3 separate regions of the Homo sapiens genome follow, and all the other regions are linked to region 1. The links are contacts of gene promoters, found by promoter capture Hi-C in blood cells and fetal thymus (Javierre and others, 2016). All regions are on one chromosome and are shown on one strand. The core of a region is centred on a gene start or on the middle of the fragment in contact, and the rest is flanking DNA. Distances in the headings are between cores, read along the strand shown.

The links. The method cuts DNA at HindIII sites, captures the fragments that hold promoters and counts their contacts. A CHiCAGO score of 5 or more calls a contact.
Region 2: a fragment that was not itself captured here is called in contact with the fragment with the promoter of KANSL1L-AS1 in region 1 in 4 of 17 cell types (M0 macrophages, neutrophils, M1 macrophages and 1 more); the score reaches 9.9 in M0 macrophages.
Region 3: a fragment that was not itself captured here is called in contact with the fragment with the promoter of KANSL1L-AS1 in region 1 in 1 of 17 cell types (neutrophils); the score reaches 6.7 in neutrophils.

Annotation. Positions count from the first base shown.
Region 1 is chr2:210,028,672-210,033,224 of GRCh38, reverse strand. It overlaps KANSL1L-AS1 (KANSL1L antisense RNA 1), which reads right to left and starts at 3,303. Exons shown (of 5, transcript NR_110291.1): 1 at 3,227-3,303; 2 at 1,718-1,758; 3 at 301-1,062. KANSL1L (KAT8 regulatory NSL complex subunit 1 like) reads left to right here. Exons shown (of 15, transcript NM_152519.4): 9 at 1,679-1,804; 10 at 3,307-3,422; 11 at 4,256-4,380. The HindIII fragment of the contact is 1,781 bases long and covers 2,237-4,017 here.
Region 2 is chr2:208,390,035-208,394,587 of GRCh38, reverse strand. It overlaps a transcript of PTH2R not described here. Among named protein-coding and RNA genes, the nearest start is that of PTH2R, 14 kb to the left of the region's middle. The HindIII fragment of the contact is 1,187 bases long and covers 1,511-2,697 here.
Region 3 is chr2:208,423,467-208,428,019 of GRCh38, reverse strand. The region is part of intron 1 of PTH2R (parathyroid hormone 2 receptor); the gene reads right to left. Among named protein-coding and RNA genes, the nearest start is that of PTH2R, 19 kb to the right of the region's middle. The HindIII fragment of the contact is 5,136 bases long and covers 1-4,553 here.

The DNA.
Region 1 (4,553 bases), core at 2,054-4,553:
TGACATGCAAGTGCATCGTTGAAATCTTAGGGTTTAATATTGATTCTGGAAAACACTTCAGCTATCACTTCTTCAACTATTCCCTCCTTTTCACTCTTTCTAGTCTCATCTTGTTACCCCATTGCGGTCTTTTTCCCTCCATATTTTCTATCACTCTGTTCCATCAAGTTATGGAATTCCTCTTCCAGACCCTGATTTTGATTTTCAGCTGTGTCCATTCTGTTTCTTAGCCTAGTGATGATTTTAACATTTGAACAATTACATTTTCTATTTCTGACATTTCTCCAGAGGGCCTCTTACCTGTTTCTCTTGGCAATACTGTTTTAAAGAGTTGCTAATCTGTATTCCATGAATGCTTCATTATTTCTTGAGATGGTTCTTCCACTTGTGGTTTGTACCTCTTTTTTGATTGTGTTGGTATTCAGATTTTTGGAGTTTTCTATACTCATCATTGAAGCTGTGATACTCAGTTAAAACTCTTCTACCACTGCTGTTTATGGGACACTTTTGATGGGAAGGGAATTTATACAACATTTGAAATTTTCAGACTAATTTGGGGATGGGCGGGACATTTCAAAGCAGGGCACCTGGGCATTGCCTTCTCTCTCCAACCATTCATTTCTCTGCCTAAAGCTCTGATTCTGTTAGTCTGACTGAGATATTGGCATGTGCAGTCAATATCCAGATAGTTGTCCTGCTCCCAGTTTTCCTTTCTTGTGGGTCTAGAGCACCTTTAGTGGCGTCACACATCTTTGTGGCAGTACTTCACTATGTGCTTCTGCTCTGGGTTTCCTCTTCAAATTCCATATAGTATTAGTCTTTTAGAGATTCCTCAGAAATTCTGCTTTACAGGTTCCACTTTTTGCTTGCAAATGTGGATTTATATGTGCCTATCTGTGCATGTACCTATGTAAAACGTATTTGTCTATCATGTTTAGGGTCATTTGCCATCTTGAAACCAGACACTCCTTGTCAGCTGGTAGGCCATGCCCTTTATTTCAGTGTGAGTTTGGCACTTCAGCTTACATATTTCTTTTTCCACTCCTTTCCACATCTCCAAACCTTTCAAAAAAAGAAGCCAATTTGGTTGTTAGACCAAGGCTGGAAATAAGGGGGTTCAGATATACAATCATGATAACGCTAACATTTACTGCACACTTATCACATCAGACACTTTTACTTACTACTACAGGAATAAACTCATGTAATCATTATCCAAGGTCGCTGCTATTATCCCTATTTTACAGATGATGCAACTAAGGCATCAGAGATATTAAATGATTCTGGTTCTTGCTCGCACAGTCTAGTCTGACCATGTTGAATCTTACTTGGTCCCAACTTATTTCCAGATTTAAAGGTAAGCAAGAACTTAAAGATTCTGATCGCCAAGATTTATATATCTGAGCCAATCCTCACTCTATCAAGTTTCTGTAATTTGGAAGACTTTGAGAACAGATCATCTTCCCTTTTCATCCCCCTCAAAAAAATGGAGAAAATATAAGAAACTGGAAATTCCTGGGGATGTTTTTAGTTGGAGTTGTGTGTCTTGGTATTTATGTTTATCTGTAATTTTGAACTGGTATCTTAAAATTCTGCAGTTACAAATAAAAACAGATTGACATGTTCACTGTCTGTGTTAAGGAACTAAAACTTAATATTTCCTTTTCATTTGTTTTAGTACATAGTACTCTGAATCAATGGAGAAATGGATATTCACCTATATGTAAGCCTCAAATAAGGTCAGAATCTTCTGCACAACTGTTACAGGGAAGAAAGAAAAGACATTTGAGTGAAACAGCATTAGGTAGGTTAAAGTGAGGATATAAGCAGTAGTGATAAATATTAAAAATTAAAAATTCTGATTTTAAAATAACCTCTCATGGGAGTTTATAATCCAGAACAGCCACTAATAACACAAAACATCTATGAGTCTACAAACATGAAACAGCATATTCGTAGTTAATTTAGAATTATTTGTGGACTGGTATCTACCCACTTTATGGCAATTAAGTATTTCCCTCCTATGTTCCCTGACTAGTTGTCTTCTACCAATCAGTCCCTGGATGGGATTTAATCTTCAAAGTTGTGTTCTATGCTCAAAATAGGCTAGTGCAAAGTTGCCTTACAGAAACTGTTAACCATTTATGGTACCTACTGTGGAGATGTTGATGCACTGCAGATTCCTCAGGATTTTGAGAAAGTCAACAAGATTCAACTTATATATATATATAAAGCTTTAAAAACATCTAATAAGATGCAACATGAAGTATACATTACCTAAGATATAAAATGTTTCACTTAAATTGACTGACACTTTAGATCTAACTTCAAGTTTGATGTACATACAGGAATAAAATAAAGAAATGTCATACTACAAATAAATAACTAGACAATTCCAAAAGGGTAGGACATCTGGTCCAGCCTGTCAAAAGTCAATGTAATGAAAAATGATTTATTCTAGACTATAAGAAACCTAGGAGACAATGGCCAATTTTTATATATAGATCCTTATCTGAAGAAACTAGCTATAAAGGACTTTTTTTTAACAAATGGAGATATTTAAATATGGACTGGGTATTAGATTTTATATTATGCAGGAAATATTCTCATTTTAAAACACTTGTACTAAAATAAGGGCAGTAAGTAAACGCATACATATATATATTTACTACACACACACACACACACAGTAACTGGGAACCAAAACAGGAAAAAAAAAAAAAAAGAACTTGGAAGATATACAGAAAATACTAACAGAAGTAAACTTCTAATCAATATCCTGAGAGATATGAGAAATTTCATCTATGAAACAAGAACAGGATGCTGTTTTAAAAAAAGAGTACCAGAGAACAAGTACTTTCGGAAACATGTACTTATAATAGCAGAATTTTTTCAAAAAATTAAGAGTGTTCAGAAGACCAAGGACAGATACCTCACATAAATTAGGATAAAAAGTCAGATATGAAAAATGAGATTAGATAAGAAAATTAAGATAGTTCTGGTGGTTCAACTATGAATAGGAGTCACAGGAAACAAGAATAAAGGGATGAGATGAGGGATTATTCAGGGAACAATAAGAAATATATTCGATAAAAACTGCCAAAGCCCCAGAAAATGGAAATAACTTGTGGCATGACTGCAAGTAAGGCTCCTCTTTTTTCATTTCCTTTTTTGTTTTCTAATACACGAATTTAAACACACACACACAAAACAAGGAATCAATCACCTGTCATCTAATTAGGAAAGTAATTCTAATGATATTAGACTTGTTTAATGTGTAACATTCAATGGTTCTTTCCATGGCAGGAGAAAGAACTAAACTTGAAGAATCTGATTTTCAACACACAGAATCAGGATCCCATAGCAATTTTACTGCTGTTTCCAATGTCAACGTTTTATCAAGAATCCAGAATTCATCACGAGTAGGTTTTTCCATATGTTGAACTCTAAAATAGCTTTAAAAATAAAAACACCTGATTTTGAAAATAATTTATATTTTGCTAATCTATAACAGCCTTACTAGCACATATTAACAGACATTTATAACTATCTTGTTAGAAAACAATATATTTGATTCATACAACTTATTTTTAACTATGAAGCTAAAAGTTCATTAATATTTGGTTATAGCTTCTTTTTATGTGTTAAAAATTTAAACATTATCATGATCATCTCTATTCCTTAACATATTAAGCTAAATAAAGTCTTACTAATGAGAATTCAGGACTTTCTTGTTCTTGTCCTGTTTTTTGTTTGTTTGTTTGTTTTTTTGTTATCTGGCCAGGGAATAGAGAGGTCAAAAGGTGGGAGGGTTTAGAAATGAATTCCGAAACTCAGGAACCAGGAATGCATAAATGAAGAGTATACTGAAGGGCTGACCAAAAATGTTTCACTGCCTTTCCTAATAAAAAGTGGTTACTGATCATTTTCATTGACATTTAGGGTGATGTATGTTGGTCTTTTCTGATAAAGAGTTTTGCATTTAAGACCTATTTTTTGTGGTCTTAAAAATAAGCTTGTATGCTTGCACACATAAATACACATTACACATCTACCAAGAGATTGTTCTGATTTACAAAAGATAGAAAAATGTTTTATTTTTTGGTTTTCTTAACATTTTTTAGTCAGACTTTATAACAATGTATTTACAAAAATTATGTAACGTGTACTGCCATATTTACATAACTGATGAAAGGAGGGTATCATTACAAGTAACTAGACAGTACTGTAAATCTACTGTAATCCTGTTTTGCAGAATACTGCACGACGGAGATTGAGAAGTGAGAGCTCTTATGACATAGATAACATTGTGATTCCCATGTCATTAGTAGCCCCAGCTAAATTAGAGAAACTCCAATATAAGGAAATACTTACTCCAAGGTATGTATACTTACATCTTCATATTTTTCTTCCTTCCTTCCCTAATAAACTTAAATTTTCAAAGTGAAGAATTTTAATTAATGAAAGGAGCATCCTTCTCCCAGTTCCTTCATAGCCATGGAGGGGAAACGGTGAAAAAAAAATTACTCGTGCCTTAAGTGTTATATAGTATC
Region 2 (4,553 bases), core at 855-3,354, 1.6 Mb after region 1:
ACTAAGGCTGCTTAGGGAAGCGTGACTAGGGCCAAAAGTCTAGTTTCTCTGGTGCCATGGCTTAGAGGGTCATGCCTGCAGTCATGGGTGTCCCATTCAAATGGGTGCCAGGATCCAGGAACCAGGGAGAGAAAATAATTGGTGGGGGGGACACCCCCTACTGTTTTCTTCTCTATCCTGGATCACATACTGAAAGGAAGCAGACTAAAAGAACACTTTTATTCTCACTTCTCTTTCTAGATGAGTAACAGATTGTCTTCAACATGCACCCCCCTGGGGTATATTTTAAAGCACTGGGACTCCTTCGGCCCTGAGACTTTGAAGAAAAAGCACTTCATATTCTATTGCACAAGGGCATGCCCTTCTTACTATCTTCGGGACAGGCAAACCTGGCCTGCTAGTGGGGAGCCTTGATTTTAGTATTATCCAAAAGTTAAAACTTTTCTGCAAACAGAAGGGCAAATGGACTGAGGCTGCCTATGTACAGGCTTTCTTTGCCCCTCAAGACAACTCAGACCTTTACAAGTTCTGTACAATCAACCCAGTTCTTTTAGCAGCCACAACAGGCAAGCCCACAGGGAATAGTTCCCCAGAGCTAAAGCAGGTTCCAGAGGAGTAATCCGAGACAGCTATTGAATGTCCCAACCCTTCCAGTCCCCTTCCAATCATACCATCCACTCCTCCAGCTCTACCAGCTCCAGTATATCCTACTCTCCCCCCTTCACTCTTACCTCTGCAGGAAATGCCTGATGGGAGTGGTGCCATAAGGGTTCAAGTTCCCTTCTCATTACAGGATCTTAAGCAAATAAAGGGAGACTTAGGCCAATTTTCTGATGACCCCTGTAGGTATATAGAAATTTTCCAAAATTTAACTCAGGTGTTTGATCTCACACGGAGGGATGTTATGTTGCTGCTAAGTCAGACCCTCACTGCAGCTGAAAAGCAGACAGTTCTGCAGGCAGCAGAAAAATACGGAGATGAGCAACATGTCTCCTATAGCAGACCCAGGAGAAAAAGAGGAGAGAGGGAAGGTGAGGAAGAGGTGGAAACTCCATTCCACTAGGAAGGGAAGCAGTTCCAGTAGACAACCCTGATTGGAATCCCAATAACTCAGGAGATGAATGGAAAAGGAAGCCCTTTTTCTAATATAGAAGGCCTATGGAAGACCAGGGCCAACCCTTTCAATTACTCTAAACTGTCCATGCTAGACCAAAGATGAGATGAGAATTCCACAGCCTTTATGGAAAGGCTGAAAAAGGCACTAATAAAACACACCTCTTTATCCCCTGATTCAGTTGAGGGACAGCTCATCCTGAAGGACAAGTTTATCACACAGGCATCTCCCCACATTAGAAGGAAGCTACAGAAGCAAGTTGTAGGACCAGAGAGCACCCTAGAAAACCTCCTGAGAATAGCCACTTTAGTCTTTTACAATAGGGATCAGGAGGAGGCCTGAGAAAAGGAGAGGAAATACAAGAGAACAGAGGCTCTAGTAGCAGCGTTGCAAGCTTGTAAAGTCCAGAATCCCCAAGGTGCATCCACTAGGTGTTATCAATGTGGCCAGCCAGGGCATTTTAAGAAGGAATGCCCAGACAGCAATACGAACCTTCCTTGACCCTGTCCAGCCTGTGGTGGAAACTGCTGAAGACAGGTCTTTCCCTGGAGGCAGAGGTCACTGGGTTCAGAACCAGTCTCAGAGATGGTCCAGCAGGATTGACAGGTCCCGGGGCTCAAACCCCCATTCCAGCGGCTCAGTCTGCCATTACAGCACAAGAGCCCCGGGTGATTCTGAAAATTGAAGGAAGGAAGGTAGATCTTCTGGGTACTGGAGCCAGTCTCTCTTCTCCTCTGTAATCCAGGCCTTCCCTCTTCCTTTAGTATGACTGTAAGAGGCGTCTCAGGAAAAACTCTAACCTGATATTTACCTTTAACCCGTAGCTGCAGGTTGGGGGCTTACTATTTACATATGCCTTTCTAATCAGGCCTAAAAGTCCCACTCCTTTATTAGGTAGAGATATTCTAGCTCGCATGGGAGCCAGTATCCTTATAGCCCCAGGACAAACTCTTTGTCTCCCCCTGATGGAAGTTAACATTAATCCAGAAGTGTGAGCAACTCAAGGAAGAATAGGTTGAGCTATAACTGCTAGGCCCATCCAAATCTATCTTAAGGATCCCACTTCTTTTCCTAACCAGAGAGAGTATCCCTTAAGGCCAGAGGCTAGGAAAGGGCTAGAAGCCATTATTAATAACCTAAAGATTAGAGGCCTCCTCAAACCCTGTAATAGCCCCTGCAACACCCCAATATTAGGAGTGCAGAAACCCAATGGGGAATGAAGAATAGTTCAGGACCTTCACCTCATTAATAAAGCTGTAGTTCCAATCCATCCAGTGGTCCCTAATCCCTATATCCTGTTAACTCAAATACCTGAGGGAACTAAATGGTTTGCAGTCCTAGATTTGAAAGATGTCTTTTTCTGCATACTGTTACATCCCGACTCTCAATACCTGTTTGCATTTGAAGATCCCTCCGGCCAGACCACCCAGTTAACATGGATGGTTTTCCCTTAGGGATTTTGAGATAGTCTTCGTCTGTTTGGACAGGCACTGTCACCAGACCTCTCTGAGTTCTCTCATACTCAAGTTAGGGTCTTGCAGTATGTGGATTATATACTGCTCTGTGCCCCAACTGAGGAAGCTTCTCAGGAAGGTACTGAAGCTCTTCTCAACTTCTTATCTAGCAGAGGATATAAGGTTTCAAAACCCAAGGCCCAGCTCTGCAGAACCTTAGTGAAGTACCTAGGCTTAGTGTTGTCTGAGGGGACCAGAGCATTAGGGAAAGAGCGGATTAAGCCTATCTCCACCTTCTCCCTCCCCAAAACTCTCAAGCAACTAAGAGTATTTGGGGGCATTACAGGATTTTGTAAACTGTGGATACCTGGATATGGTGAAATAGCCCATCCATTACATAACGTCATAAAAAAACTCAGGGAGCTAAAACTCATCTTTTAACCTGGAAACCTGAAGTTCAAAAGGCCTTTGACAAGCTAAAGCAAGCTTTGCTCAAAGCAGCAGCTCTCAGCCTTCCTGTAGGGGAGTCCTTCAATCTGTATGTATCAGAAAGAAAGGGGATGGCCCTGGAAGTTTTAACACAGGCCCAAGGACCAGCTCAACAGCCAGTGGGTTATCTATCAAGAGACACCTCAGAAAATTATCCCAAGAAACTCACCTTCCTTGGGTCACTTTTCTTCCTATGGCCTTACTAGAAATAAAAAATACACCTTCAAAATTAGGTCTTAGCCCTTTTAAGATGCTGTATGGATGGCCTTTCCTTACCAATGATTTTCTATTAAATCGAGAAACGTCTAAGCTAGTTAAGCATGTAACTTCTCTGGCTCACTTCCAATTAGCACAATTCATGAAAGCCCAACCCCAGGAAATTGGACCACTCTATTTAACCCAGGAGATTTGGTACAGGTGAAGGCTCTGCTTTCCCTGCCTCCCTCCCTAAGCCCAAGCTGGGAAGGGCCTTACACCGTTCTTCTTTCAACTCCCTCAGGAATAAAAGTCATAGGAATCAAATTCTGGATACATCACACTCGAGTCAAAGCCTTGGAGAGCTAAGGGACCAAAGCCCAAAGGAATGACCTGAATATCTGTGAAAAAATAGATCTTAAGCTGAAAATCACAAAAGATAAGTAACTGAGTAAGAACTACTCATCGTACTCAGTCTCACCCCTACCTCATCAAATACTTTTTGTCATTTCTACCTCTCCCTTTGAGCCAAATATTAAAACTTCTTTTTGATGGAAATTATTTACTATGCCACCCTTGCAGAAATTGTTATACTCACTCTACTATTTGCAATAGAACTATATACTGTAGCACCCTCAGGGTGGAAAATCAGACAGAGAATCTCAATTACTGTAGCATTTTGCTTAATTATTATCCTGATAGCAGGAATAATGGTTACTAACAGAAAATAAACATGAGTGTTTTACTATCACTAAGTCTATTAGGACTTTTTATCGGACTTAGTAATACATCACACCCTTTAGCTCCTACAATATCCACCATGGCCCATTTGTACAAGACTAATTGTTGGGTCTGTCCTAAGTAGTTCACTCAATTCAACGACACTGAGGAATCTTACAGTGACCCGGAACTCATCGTCTTGGGGTTCCCTTTATTGGCTTTACCTTTAACCTTTCAAGACATATCAGGCATAAATGGGACATGGTATGGGAGCACTTTCAACTGGGTGACTAACTCCTCTCAGGAGAACATTCCACCCCCAGTGGCAAAGAACACTCTCTCCAAACATAAGCTTCACACCCTCAGGCTGGGAAAAATTGACCAAGTAATAGCAAATGTCTCCCTCTGCTTTAAAAGTAGCGGGAAAGGACCACACTTGGGAGATCTCAGATATTGTAACATCACACTTGTAATTGCTGACAGTTCAAAAATTTGAGGAGAAGGGTGCAACAAGGGTCATCTAAAAGGATCAGAAGCTCTAGTGGGGGGCTTTCAGAATCGCCTCTCCTGGTTGGAAGTCC
Region 3 (4,553 bases), core at 1,199-3,698, 1.6 Mb after region 1:
CTTTTACCTGATTAGCCTTTTAAAAAATCTCATACCAGAAAAAGTGAGAAAATTTTAATATAGTTAGGTAATTATATTAGAGATAATAGACTACAAAAAAAAGAGATATTATACTAAGAAAAAATATTTAAAATAAAATAATTATATTAGAGATAATATACTACAAAAAATAAAAATAATATACAAAAATATATATAATTTCCTGCAATATTATAATTCCATCTAACATGATACAATTTATTTAGTACCAAGAGTGGTTGGTTCCAGAGGAACAGAACCTTAAAGAAGAAACCATCTGTATTTATCACCTATAGCTGTGTAACAAAACATCCCAAAATATTGTTGTGATTTAAAATAACAAACATTAATTTGTTTCACAGTTTGGGAGATGCGTAGCTGGGTATTATTTTCTAAGATATTTACAGCACAAAGAGAATCTCAGTGAATAGTCAGATATATAGTTTTGGAGATTTCTGGATTATATTCATAGCTCAATGCCCATATTTACTTTAACGATTTTTTTTTTAGAAAATGAGAGAATAAGCAAAAACTAATTTTGGGGGTTGAAATACATACCAGAATTTATCTATCAATATAATACAACATGGATTCTGAGTTATAAGTAGATACACTGAAAGTGAGCCTAAAATCTCACATATCAAAAAGAGCAAATGAACTGGATATACATGAGTCTCTGAGTGGGCATGGCAGGAAAAATTGACTCCTTCCCATTCGTTCTCTAGAAACAGTCAGGCACACCTGAAGTTTTTTGTTTTGTTTTGTTTTGGTTTTTTCCTGGCTGTTTTTTTCAGTTAAACCGTTACTTCCTTTTACTTCAATCCTAGAAAACATTGTATAAATTGTGACCAAATTTCAGAACTATACATTTGATTCAGAGAAATTTGACTTCAATTATCAAACGTGAATATTTCAAATCACCCCTTGTGCCATTTTTACTCGAAAATATTCTTTTTTATTTCTTCCTGTGTACACGCAGCCTTTTTATAGGGATAACCTTTTCAGGAAACCATGCATCTTATAAACTACAGCTTCTAAAGATATTTTGTTCTAAAACATCTGGTCAGTTTAGCCGGGAGCAAGTATGATCAGAATGTGCTAAATCACAATCTGTTAAATTGATCTTTAGTCATTGTATTAGTCCATTCTCACACTGCTATGAAGAAATACCCAAGACTGGGTAAGGAAAGAGACTTGATTGACTCACAGTTCCACATTGCTGGGGAAGACTCAAGAAACTTACAATCATGGCAGAGGGCAAAGGAGAAGGAGGCACCTTCTTCACTGGGCAGCAGGACGAAGCGAGTGCAAGCAGATGAAATGCCAGACATTTACAAAACCACAAGATCTCATGAGACTAACTCACTATCAGAACAGCATGGGGGAAACCGCCCCCATGATCTCATTACCTCCCCTGCTTCCACCCTTGACATGTGGGGATTATGGGGATTACAATTCAGGATGAGATTTTGGGTGGGGACACAGCCAAACCAAATCAGTCATTTCCAGTAAAAGCAAATAAGTACTTGTTTTTTATATTGCTTTCTTTTTATTCCTTTGTTGTAGATACAAGCACTGTTTAACATAGAATGACATTAAAATGATAGTGTACTTCAAACAGAAGAGCAGTTTACATTTTCAATGTCTAGTTCTCCAAAAGCAACAATTGCACCCAAAACAAAATGTTACATTTAGAAAAATAGATGTTAGTAATTTTTCCTGGACAAGTGATCATTTATGATTTGAAATAAAATGTTAAATTCCAATCTGTCACATATTTGATAGCTAAGAGAAGCCCTACTTTGGTAATTTGTACTTTATTAAAAGCCCCTAAAGTTATAAATATAGATACCAATTTTAATGTCAAGACATGAAAATCTTCATAATTAACCCAATATTCACATTTATTCAATTTTTAAGTAACCATAAATCCATAAGTTAGCTTAATTTAAGAGGTATTCTGGAACTTCCAGCATGATGGAGTTGATGTGCTTTCCCCAATTCCTCTCAGTAAATATAAACAAAAGCCCTACACATTACATATAAAATGAATATAACAATATTCTAAAAGGCAGAGAGAAGATAGCAGAGCAGGCTACAGATCCTGGAAGACAACATGGTGGTAAATTCCCTGGGTTTTCTTTCTCCCTCATACATCCCCAACTTGGAGTAAAAGAAGCTGGAAACTCTGGAATATCAATAGGCACAGGCAGAAAAATTTAAAAGTCTCAAGAGAAGCCTGCTCTCTAGCCAAGGAAGAAAAAAGACAGCCTGGAAAAACACCACAGAACAAGCTGCAGCCCACAACTGGGGCTTAGCCTGGGAGGGTTTCTGGCTCTGCCCAGGGAAGAATTCAAAGACAAGCTGGTGGTGTTTGACAGCAACTTTTATAGAAGTGACAGTATACAGCAGCAGCAGAGGTACTATTCCTTGCAGAGCAGGGCCAGGCAGTCTGCCCAGAGTAGCAGCTCAAAGGCAGTTCTGCAGTCATATTTATACCCACTTATATGCAAATTAAGAGGTAGATTATATAGCAATTTCTTTTAAAAGGGTGGTAACTTCTGGGTCATTGGGTCATTGCTGTGGAAAGGGGTGGTAACTTTCAGTGTTGCCATGGCAATGGTAAACTGGCATGGAACACTGGAGGATGTGTCTTATGGAAAGCTGCTTCCACCATGTCCCTCTTTTAGCTAGTCCTCAATTTGGTCCAGTCTCTGAGCCCCACCTCCTACCTCAATATCTCAAGGGTTCAGCTTTTTACTCCATCTCATTACATGTGATTTGCAAGTCATAAATCATTGCCTTCACAATGATTATGACCTCCTTAAGGTCATAAAAATTATAATTTTTAAGAAGTATTCAATCTTATGTAATTATTTTGTTCTGCTTGATTTTGATTTGCAGCTTCATGAACCCATTAGTTTTTTCATTAGAGTTTTAGAAATTTTTATTTAGTCCATTGATCTCAATGGCTACAACAGGTCTCACCCGGTTTCCCAGTGGTCTTTTGATTTGCTTAGTTTCTTGGCCTCAGGCTTGGCCTCTTGGTTCAAAATCATTGTACAAAATAAATTCGTTATGCTCCTGTTGGTTTTACTTTGTATTATTTCCTTTAAACTTTGGACCTAACTGTGTCCTGCCCCAATTCTATAGAAACAACACTCCTGATAGAATAATGCTGGGCCAGTGTTTCAAATGATAACCAATACTTATGGAACCAACAAAATTGAACTTAACTGTGGACCCCAGGAAGATTTAGCCTGAGAGCCACTTTCTCCAGGTCAGGCTTGTTGCTCAAATGTGGCTGAAAGTGATTTGATACTGACTCCCAGTCGCCAATCACTTCTTCCCAATGTGAGACCATACCAACAATCCAGGACAGGTGCATCTCAGCACCAAGGGACAATTAAAACCAACCCACAGGAGAGTCGATCAGTGATGCTTTCAGAGAAATGTGGAAGTTGTAAGATCCAAACTAGAGTAACTTATGTCAAGCCTTGGCAAGTGGAGCAGGGCAGACCCATGAAGGCAGGGCTCTCACACATGATTTGCTGGATAATGGGAACTATCGCAAGAAATTTTTCCAAACCACAGTTTACTACATGGACAGCTTACACAAGGACAGCTAGCAACACAAGGACAGCTAACCACTTATACAAGAACACTTGCCTGACATGCTGTCTCACAAACCCAACCCAAAATGACAAGGGACCCCTGCAAACTCCCAGAATGGTTTAAGAGCAAAGTAAAGAACTAAAACATTCCCTCTCACTGGCCTGAAACAAGGCTTCTGGACACCCCCACCTTTTCTTCACAACCTGCATATAAGAAGCCTGGACTTCCACCCCTCCTGACAGTAACACAGTGTCCCTCTACTCCTCTGCTGGAGCGGGGGTCAGAGAAGACCTAGTGGAGAGTCAGCCTAGCAGTAACAAGGCTACTCCCATTGTGGTGACAGTGGAGGCCACATGAGGAGCAGCACTCATACCCCCACACATCAGGACCACGGAGCAGCCCACCATAGGTGTCAGTGATAGCTGACGGAGGAACCAAAACTTCTACTTCTATGAGCAGTAATAAGGTGATAATCCCACTTCCCCAGTTATATTAGTACCAGACCAAGTAGAGCAAACAAAATTACCAGAGACTAAAAGAGGGACATTATATCATAATACAAGGGTCACTCCATCAAGAAAACATGGCCCTCAAAAATGCGTATGCATCAAAAAAACAGAGCTGCAAAATATGTGAAGCAAAAACTGATAGAATGAAAGAAGAGATAAACAAATCCACTACTACAACTGGAAACTTCAACCCCCTTTCTCAGCAATTGATAGAACAACTAGACAGAAAATCAGCAAGGATATAGAACTCAACAATGCCATCAACCAACAGGATCTAATAGACATTTACTGAACGCTTCACCCAGCAATGGAGAATACACTTTCTTTCCAAATACATACAGAACAAATACCAAGGTAGACCATATCCTGAATCATAAAACAAATCTCAACAATTTTAAAAGAATTGCAAGC